2 separate regions of the Homo sapiens genome follow, and region 2 is linked to region 1. Evidence: promoter capture Hi-C in 16 types of primary human blood cells and fetal thymus (Javierre and others, 2016). All regions are on one chromosome and are shown on one strand. The core of a region is centred on a gene start or on the middle of the fragment in contact, and the rest is flanking DNA. Distances in the headings are between cores, read along the strand shown. Region 1 holds the start of TXN (thioredoxin). Region 2 overlaps KIAA1958.

What was found. Contacts are between HindIII fragments. The CHiCAGO score rates a contact against its expected background, and 5 or more counts as called.
Region 2: a contact is called between a fragment that was not itself captured here and the fragment with the promoter of TXN in region 1, in 1 of 17 cell types (neutrophils). The highest score is 5.3, in neutrophils.

Annotation. Positions count from the first base shown.
Region 1 is chr9:110,254,601-110,259,474 of GRCh38, forward strand. It overlaps TXN (thioredoxin), which reads right to left and starts at 1,907. Exons shown (of 5, transcript NM_003329.4): 1 at 1,812-1,907. The coding sequence starts at 1,835. RefSeq lists enhancers at 1,099-1,428, 2,171-3,370, 2,299-2,498, 2,539-2,588 and silencers at 1,499-1,748, 1,919-2,158. The HindIII fragment of the contact is 7,662 bases long and covers 1-4,540 here.
Region 2 is chr9:112,492,291-112,497,164 of GRCh38, forward strand. The region is part of intron 1 of KIAA1958; the gene reads left to right. Among named protein-coding and RNA genes, the nearest start is that of HSDL2-AS1, 7.1 kb to the left of the region's middle. The HindIII fragment of the contact is 2,197 bases long and covers 1,371-3,567 here.

The sequences.
Region 1 (4,874 bases), core at 657-3,156:
TTAATTGATTATCAGGGCCTTTGGGCCCCAGGCTGTAGTGCTTTTTTTAAAGTTCCTGTCACCCTTGTACACCTTTGTCACTGGTAGAGGAGGAAGGTGCTCTGACATGCTCTGACAACTGGGAGGACTAAACTGTGTGCTCCAGAAATCCTAATCAACTTTGTTTGTAGTGTCTGGATTTTGGGACAACTAACATAGACCACTCAAAGGTCTTCTGGCTCAGTGGAGGGGGTTCTTAGCAGTTGGGTTATACTGAGGTTGCCAGACCCTGGAGAACAGAATCCCAGCCCCACTCCCTTCCCCAGGAATGGATTAATAATTTGTCACACAATAGGTGCTTGGAAAAAAAGTATATGAAAGACAATTCACTACTAAGGATCTTTTCAACACATGAGGGCTGCTAAAATGAGAATCCCACTAAGAAAAAACTGATTGAGAGGAAGATAAAAGATGACAGTGGCAATCAACATATGAGGAAAAAACACTGAGAGTCAATAATAATCAAAGGAACAAAAGGATCGGGGACACATTGCAGACACACTTCTGTTTCCGAAGCCCACCCGGCACCAAACAGGTCAGGGCACCCGAGGCGGGCGAGGACCCGCCCTCCTCTGCTTCCCGCAGGTAGGGAGGGGTAATCGCAGGGTAGGCGCTGGCGAGGGGTCTTCTACCGTTCGAGCAGTATCAATTTCCTCCACTCACTTTTCTGACGCTGCATTTAACAAATATTTCTGGAGTGGCTACATTGGACTAGACACTGCGCGTTAGGCTCTGGGTTTCCCAGTCTACAAGGTTTTAGGCTTGCAATAACTTTCAAACATGGGAAGGCTGTTTCGCCTTGGGCATTTTTAAGAGGACAAAACAACGATCGGGATACCGATAGGTCGGCGAGCAGGCAGCAGGGCGCGGCTGCTCCCAGGAGGAACCCTGGCTCCAGCAAAACCCACCGACTGAGGGTGAATCATGGACGGGCAGGGCAGCCGAGGCCCCCGGGCCCAACCTTGGGGACTCAGTCATTCCAAAGCCACTGCTGCCGGAAACGCGCCCTGCGCCACAGGAGTCCCGTGGGCGCGGCCCGGACCTCACTTCCTCGCGGTCACCTGGGGCCCTCGGGCCTCCTGGACAGACCTGCACGTGCCAGGGGGTCTCCAGCCGCAATCCGCCCCCTTAGTGCGGATACAGCACGCGTCACCTTTGGGGTCGGGCATGGGTGGAGGCAGGCGGGGGTCTCCGGCCTAGACCCGCTCCCAAAGGGAGATCACTACCCCCGCTGCGGGTGGATCACTTCACATACGGAAAGGCAGCGGCGGCCACCGACCCGTGCCTTCTGCAAGGGCCCTCCCTATCCTTGCCTGGGGCCTGAATCTGGATACAGATGGGGGGCCAAGGGCGGACCCCTTCCATTCCCTCATCTTCCTCCAGTCGGGGCTGCCCGGACGGGAGGGTGCAGGAGGCGCAGCGTGGGGACTCCTCACGCTGTCTGCGCTCTCACATCCCCCGGACGCTCCCCGCGTGCGTGCAATCCCCCGAGGAACAGGGTGCGAGAAACGCTGGGCACCGCCACTCCGCCCTCCAGGGGACCCTCGTCCTTCTCCTCCCTTCCTCCAGGGCAGGCTCCACCGCCTCGGGCGCGCCCAGGCCGCTGCTTCCCGCAGTCCCAGGCCGAGACGCCGCGTCCCTTTCCCCTGGCGATGCGGAGGGGCGGCCTCCGCACCTCCCGCCACCGCCTTCCCCACCTCCCGCCACCGCCTTCCCCAGTTACAGAGGCCGCGCGCGGCGCCGGCACCCTGGCCTTCCCCGGTAGCGCGTACCTTGCTCTCGATCTGCTTCACCATCTTGGCTGCTGGAGTCTGACGAGCGGCTGTAAGGACCGATGGAAATGGATCCAAAGCACCAAACAGAGCTTCAAGACTCGCTGCTTGCTCTCTCCCTTTATAAACTGGCACGCCCGGCGTGCGTGTGGCGGGGGCGCGCGCGCCCGGCCGGACCTCCGCGCCCGTCGCTGCGCCCCGGCCACGCCCCGCCCCTGGAGCCTGCGAGCCGGGATCGGGGCGGGGCTGGCGCAAGCGTGGGGCGGAGCTCCAGGGCTTCGGCTCCTGTAACCCCAAGCCCAGCTCGCACTCCAGCTGGAAGTGGGGATCAGCACTGCGCGTGACGGTGGGAGGCGGGGAGACGGACAGTCACCCCCAGAGACACAAGGTCCCTCCCGGGTCACCTGGGGATGCGTCCGCCGGGCCTGAATCGAACACGCCCACGCTCGAGATGGGGACCGCCCAGGCAGGGCTGGATTCCTCGAAAAGGGCCGCCACGCCCCGGCCCCCCCAGCCACGTGAACCCCACAAAGTGCTGAGTAACGGTGACCGGGAAGTATCTCGGTGTGTACGTCCTTGCCTCCTCTCCGGAATTTACCGTGACCGTTCTCTTCTCTGTAACCTCCTTCTGTTCTTTCATTTTCACTGCTGAGCCCGCTGCTCCAGCTTGACACAGCGGTTTAGTGCGGTAGAAACGACCGGGGGACTGGTTGGGCTCTTGACCATCAGACAGCTGCGTGTGAGATGGAAGTGCCACTGGGTTGAGCTCTGCAACTTAGTTACGCAGTTGTGACCCTGGAAAGGTCCTGACCTCCTGAAGTCTCAGTGTTTCCTTCTGTAGAACGGGAATCATGATGGTCTCAATCTCACGGTGGTGGTATTTTGAGGGTTAATAGTGCTTGCAAAGGACGGTGCTTGGCACATAGTAAACACTCCATAGATAGTTCTTACTGTTCGGTGTCTTGCAGGGACTGATTGGGCCTGGCCACCTTATACAGCATTTACAATGGCACAGCACGCACACTTGTGTGAGATTCTTCTAACAGAGGCAGACTCCTGGAACAGAAGTCGGAGTTTGCATTGATCCAGGAATGCCTGTTGCAGGTTATGTCTGGCAGGGCTGGGGATTGTGGAAGGTGGGTATGTTAGCTGGCCTTGTGGAGCCAGGAGGGCCTGTCAGCGGCTGGAAGTGGAGGTTGAAAAGCTGCTCACAGGAACGAGAGCTAGAAGGCTGGGAGGGAGAGTCCCAGGTCTGTGTTTTCAGAGCTGAGCTGTTCCCGATGAAGCTGCAACTAGGTGTGATTGCCTAGGGGTGGTGATACTGCTGCCTGGCTGCCCCCTGAAATCCCTGGCTTCCTTCTTTCACTCTTTCAGACAGAGGAAGGGAGGAAACCAGAGGTTTTGAATCTATTGTGCAAAGTTTCTAGGGGGCTGAGGAGCACGGAGCATGAATATGGATATAGGCAAGGGACACATTCTAAAGACAGCCCATAGGGAGGGAAGACAGACTGCCCTGAATGCAGCAATGTTCCCAAAGAGAGGGAGGTTATTGGGGCAGAGAGGAAGGAGCTGTATGGAGCACCCAGAGCAGAATCTATAACCTGCTTTTCTGCTGCTGGGTTTTCAGTTCAGCTGCATCCCAGCTTCCTGACTTTTATCTGTTTGTTGGTGAATTTGCATGGGTGATAACAACAAATCATTGAGTTCCAGGAAGGGGCAATGCAGGCCATCCTCAGCTGACTTCTCTCCAAAGACCTTCCAAATGTCCAGTGACTCAGTGAAGGAGGTACTCCCTCTCTCCCACCTCCACAGCACCAATGCAGAGTAGATGTGGAGGATGGTACAGTTATAAGGAACTGGGAGGCCAGTCTGGACTCTGCAATTTGACTCCGTTGTCCTCATCCCTACTCTACCACTTCATGACTGGGTAACTCTAGGCAAGTCTAAATAGCCTTTTTGTGCCTCAGTTTCCTTATGTGAGAAGTGGGCGTAATAATAGCTTGTGCTATTATAAGGGTTGAGTGAACTAAAATATATGTAAAATGCTTAGAACCGTGCCTGGTGTGTAGTGAATGCTACATGAACTATGATTATAGGCTATTAAATGAATGATGAGATCCATCTGGAATGATGGCAGAGCTAGGGTGGAAGGAGAGATTATAAAACAGGTGTCAGTCTTAAATGAATTAAGTAATGAAGACAGTAGTAATGAACAGTGAGCTCCGTAACATAAGCCTCAAAGGAAAAGGCCTTTTTTTTCCCTGCAAGGAAGAAAGAAAAGTGGGCTGCACCTGGTCCCAAGGAGCAGGTTCCCTGCATTTGTGGCAAGGAGGTGACGTTCTTTGAGGAGAGTGAGGTACAGGGGAATTATTTGGGACTGCCCAGAGAGGAAGCGTTCATTTGTGCAGAGAAATGTAGAGGCTCTGTGTGTTAGTCAGAATTTTCAGTTGCAAGGAGAAATTCTAGCTCAAACTGACGTAAAGCAAAAAGAGAATTAGTAACTCAGATTAGCAAGAACCCCAGGGGCCTAATGATGTCAAAGGGCACCATCTCTCTTAGTTTCATTCTCAAGTAGGCACTCTATGTAAGAGTGGAGTAGGCAGCTCCAGACTTAGGTTCTTACTAGTTTAGTATCTCTACAGGAAGAGTGTTCCTCTTCCTTGTTCTTATAAATGTCTGAGAGGCTGACCTTCACTTTCATGGTGGGGAAAGGGATTAGCCTTGCTTGAAGCTTTGCACTAAGAGTAGGGAAAATCCAGGGGGTTACCAGAAAAGGGGAGATTGCTGCCGGACCAGCAAAAATGATATTTTTATGTCACCCAGAAGGGCGGAAACATGTAACAAGGGTGATGGGCCTGCTTCAGGCCTGGGTCAGCTGAGTCCAGCCTCCACATGGGACTGGAGAACTGGGTCAGCTGTCTTTGTTTGGGTCTCAACTCGAATTTGAAGAAAATGTAATTGTAGGATTTCTGAAACAAGTTTTTCTCACATCCCACGTGTCTCTGAGTGGTTCTTGACCACCTAATTCATCATAGCCAAAGGTGCTCGATGATACTGCACATT
Region 2 (4,874 bases), core at 1,219-3,718, 2.2 Mb after region 1:
CTTCACTTGGTCTTCCCTCTGTGTATGTGTGTGTCCTAATTTCCTCTTAAGAACATCACTTACATTGGATTAGGGCACACACATATGACTTCATTTTACCTTAATTACCTCTATTCCAGGCCTTACTTCCCCTATAAGTCACATTCTGAGGTACCAGGGTTTAGGATGTGAACAGATGAATTTGAGAGGAATACAGTTCAGCCTATAACACAGTCCATCCCTCTACCTACTGCCTTTCATGCATGTATACCTACCTACCTACATATGTACATACATACCTCACTCCACATGTGGGATTTTGTTGGCAATTTTTCACTTGAATCCCAGGCCCCAATACATAGCAATATGATCAACTCTATATATAGTCATTAAAAATAAAGTAGCTAAAGGCTTTTTGTTTTTCACTCTTCATATTCATTGTTTTTAAATGCTTTATTTTTAATGACTTAAAGTACAAAATCCTTTTTTTGTTTGTTTGAGACAGGATCTTTTTCTGTTGCCCAGGATGGAGCGCACTAACGTGATCACAGCTCACTGCAGCCTCGACCTCCTGAGCTCAAGCAGTCCTCTCACCTCAGCCTTCTGAGTAGCTGGGATCACAGGTGCACACCCAGAGCCCAGCTCACTTTTTTTTTTTTTTTTTTTTGTAGAGATGAGGCCTGTGTGTCCCAGATTGGTCTTGAACTCCTGGGCTCATGATATCCTCCTATCTGGGCCTCCCAAAGTGCTGGGATTACAGGCCTGAGCCACTGTGCCTGGCCAAAATTCTTAATAGTTGTTTTGGAATACTGGAGAATATTATTGTGGCCAAATTCAGTGGAAGTGCTAATGCTGTTATTTTCTTCTGAGTTCTGAGGACTTGTTTCTTTTAGTGCTTTTTTTTTTTCAGCTATTGGTCTTGCTGCTCTCATGGTAAGTTATGCACTATTTGTTCTTTTCACGCATGTCTGATGATTCCTGAATCTAATATCTAGTCGGGGCTTTTCTCCTGAAATCCACATCTTTGTGTCCTACTACGACTGGATATATTCACTTAATTTTCCACAAGCATTTCACATTCAACATGCCCCAGACTTATTGTCCTCTTCACATCTGTGTCTTTTCTTTTATTCCTTAGCTCAGTGAGTTGGTACCACCTTCCATCCATTTTCCCAGTCCAGAAATTTAGGAGTTATCTCTGATTCCTTCTTTATTCTTAATCCCATTTTCCATACATAATCAAGCCCCTGGGTCAGTCAGTTCTTGCTGCCCAAGATTTCTCAATTCTGTCTGTTTGCCATATGTGAATCATATGCTACTGTGTTACCTTTGCATTAGTCTTAGTTTTTCATTTAAATATATTCAGTGTGCAACAGAAGTCCTTACGGTAAAGCTTCTGTAATCATCTAGTAGTCTGAAGTTCATTGAATTCTTGTAGTGGCTCATGTGAAATGTATCCCTTGCTTTTCATATTTAACACTGTTTATCTGTGGCTTTTATAGTTCAAGGTCACTTTGACTGAATAAAAATACTTGACTCACATTTTTTTTCCCCTCAACTATCTTTAAAAATGTTACTCTCTTGCAGGAGTTGGCAAACTTTTTCTGTAAAAGACTGAATAATAATTATCTTAGGTTTTATGGATCACTGGTTTCCCTCACAATTACTTAACTGTGCCATTGCATTGCAAAAGCAGCTATAGATAGTGTGTAAATGAACTAGCCTGACTGTTCCAATAAAACTTAATTTACAGAACCAGGCAGTGGGCTGGATTTGGTCCATAGGCCTTAGTTTGCTGAGTCATATTCTATTCTGGTAAAATGTGTTGTTGTCAAACTGTAATACCAATATGATTTTCTTTCTTTAATTTTATCTTTTTGCCTAGATACCCAAGGGCTTTTTCTTCATATTTAAAGCCAATAATTTTACTAGAATGTCTGTTGACCATTCCCTGTTAATTCTCCTAGATACACAGTGTTTTTTATTACATTGGCTCAAGTGTTTTTTCATATTTTCATCAATTATAGTTTTTTAGTAATGTGTTCCATTGTTTTCATTTTCTCTCTTTGGGGCCTCCTATTATATGTATGTTGGATCTTCTTATGTCTATACCTTAGTATTATTTTTTCTTATTTTTTATATTTGCTCTATTTTTATGTTTTTTTCTATTTTATGCTTTAGTGTGTTCAATGTATTTTTCATGGTATCTATCGCTTTTTTTTTTTGACAGTCTCTGTCACCCAGGCTGGAATGCAGTGGCACCATCATGGTTTACAGCAGTGTCAACGTCTCTGGCCTCAGGTGATCCTCCCAGTTTAGCCCCAAGTAGCTGGGACTACAGATGTGCATCACCATGCCCTACTAATTTTTGTGTTTTTTGTAGAGACAGGGTTTCACCATGTCACCCAGGCTGGTCTCAAACTCATGGGCTCAAATGATCCACCTGCCTCAGCCTCCCAAAGTGCTGGGATTACAGGTGTGAGCCACCGTATCTGGTGGTACCTATCTATTAAGTTTAGTGTTCTTTTTAGTTTTCACTTCCTTTCTGAGTTTTTTCTTTCCTGTTCTGTCATGAACTTTGTCATTTCTTATTGTACATCCTCTTGTTATCTGGCAAGATTCATTTTTTAGTTTTTCAATTTCTGATGTATGCTGTTCTTCCATAGCTTCTATCATTTAAAAATTTTTTCCCCTTTTTTCATTTTTTTTTCTTTTTGAGACAGGGCCTTTCTCTGTCATTCAAGGCTCAAGGGATTCACCCACCTCAGCTTCCCAAGTAGCTAGGACTGTGGATGTGTGCCACCACTACCAGCTGAATTTTTTTTTTTTAAAGACAGGTTTCACTTTGTTGCCCAGGCTGGTCTTGAATTCTTGGGCTTGTGATCCTCCTGCCTTGGTCTCCCAAAGTGCTGAGATTACAGGCATGAGGCACTGTGCCTGGCTATTTTCTTAATTCCTCTTATTCCTTTTGAAATATGTTACAGTTCTCATCTTTTTTTCTTACTGTGCTTTTTAATTGTTCTCTCTTGGTCATATTTAAATTAGATGGACTTACCTGTACTTTTGGAGAAGGTTTCTGTGATGGAGATGGAAATTGATAAATACAGTTTTCCTGGTTTTATAGTTTGAAGATTTCCTCCTTTGTTGCTTATCTGAAGTATTTTAAAAATATGGCCACTCAATTAAAATAAAAATGAGGTACCATTGTACACTCACTAGAATGGCTAAATGAGAAAGATGAAAAATACCAAGTATGAGGATGTAGGATAGCTGAAATTCTCCTGCACTGCTATTCAAAGTGTAAATTGGAATGGAAATGTAAAGTGGTACAGCAATTTGGAAAGCTGTATGGCCATATCTACTAAAACTGGACATATGCTGCAAATCCTGTGACTCATTAGTTCTACTGTAAGATCCATACTCACCCAAATATATGGACTAGAATGCTCATAGCACATTTGTCATTGCTCCAAACTGAAATCTGTTGAAATGGCCATCAGTCATTGTTGTTCCCTTCCGCAGTGAGTCTGACTTTGGCTTTGTAACTTGCTCTGGCTAGTTGGACATTAGCAAGCATTATGCAACAGAAGCTTGATAAGCGCTTACATACTCTGGGGAATAATGCCCTGAGACCACTATATAAGGACGTCCTGGAGTAGGAGAGGTTACTTGGAAGAGAATCGTGGTGCCCAGCCAATGACCAGTACTTACTGACAAACTTGAGTGAGGCCATCTTTGACCTTATAGTTTAGCTGACCTTCCTTCCAGCTAAAAGTAGCCATGTGAACAAGTCCAGGTAAAGCCAGAGGAGGAACTACCCAGAAAACATAGAATTGTGAGAAATAAGAAATTGTTGTTTTAAGCCACTAAATTTTTAGGTGATTTGTTATACAGCAATATTAAACTGACTCAGATTGAATAAATACATCATGGTATATTTACACAATGGAATACTGTAGATCGATGAGAATGATAAACAGTCTACAGCTGCATGCAGTAGTATGTATGAATCTCACAGACATATGTTGAGCTAAAGAAGCCAGACAGAGCAGAGTTTATACTGTATGCCTGCATGTATAGAAAGTCCTCAAACAGGCAGAATCATTCTGTTCTGTTAGAAGCCAGAATAGGGGCTACCCTTGGGAGAGTATTGATGAGAATAGAGAAAGTAGAGGCTTCTGGGCTGCTGGAAAGTTTCTGTTTCTTGAACTGGTTGCTGGTTACATAAGTGGGTTCTGTTTGTGAAATTGTGAAATATCAGCAAGTTCACTTATTGCTGCCTTTTTCCGAGTGTATGTTTCAACATAAAGGAAAAAATGTGGCTTCTTGATGTGACCTCCTCTCTGATGTTCTCTGAGATTAACCTCCTCTGGGTATCTCTTTCCTTTATTCCCACTCCTGCCTCTTTGTTTGATTTGGATTCTAGTCCACGGTGTTCTTCCTAAAGCCTCTTAGGTTCTTGTGGTCTCGCGTTCTCCCCCAGAAGCTCAGAAACTTTACTGGTTGTTCTTAGATACAATTTCACTTAAAAAAGATCCTCTCTTTTTGATGGTAATTTCTTCTTTCCCAGCTCTTAGAATCACCAGAACTCTCTTTTTTCTCCCTTCATCTGACCAGTTGCTTATTCTGTGTAGGTTCTGTTTTTTGGGCATTTTAGCCCTGCCTACTTATCTGTTGTCCATAGGACTGTCCTATCACCTGATATTGTTGAATATTTTGTCTTTTGTTATTGTCCACCTATTTTGTTATCCTCCCATCTCTGGGTGTTTTTATTTTTCCTGTGCAGATAATTGTAGATTCACTTACAGTTGTAAGATATAATACAGAGAGGTTCTTTGCATGCTTTGCTCAGCTTTCCCCAGTGGTAACATATTGCAAAATTATATTTATAATAT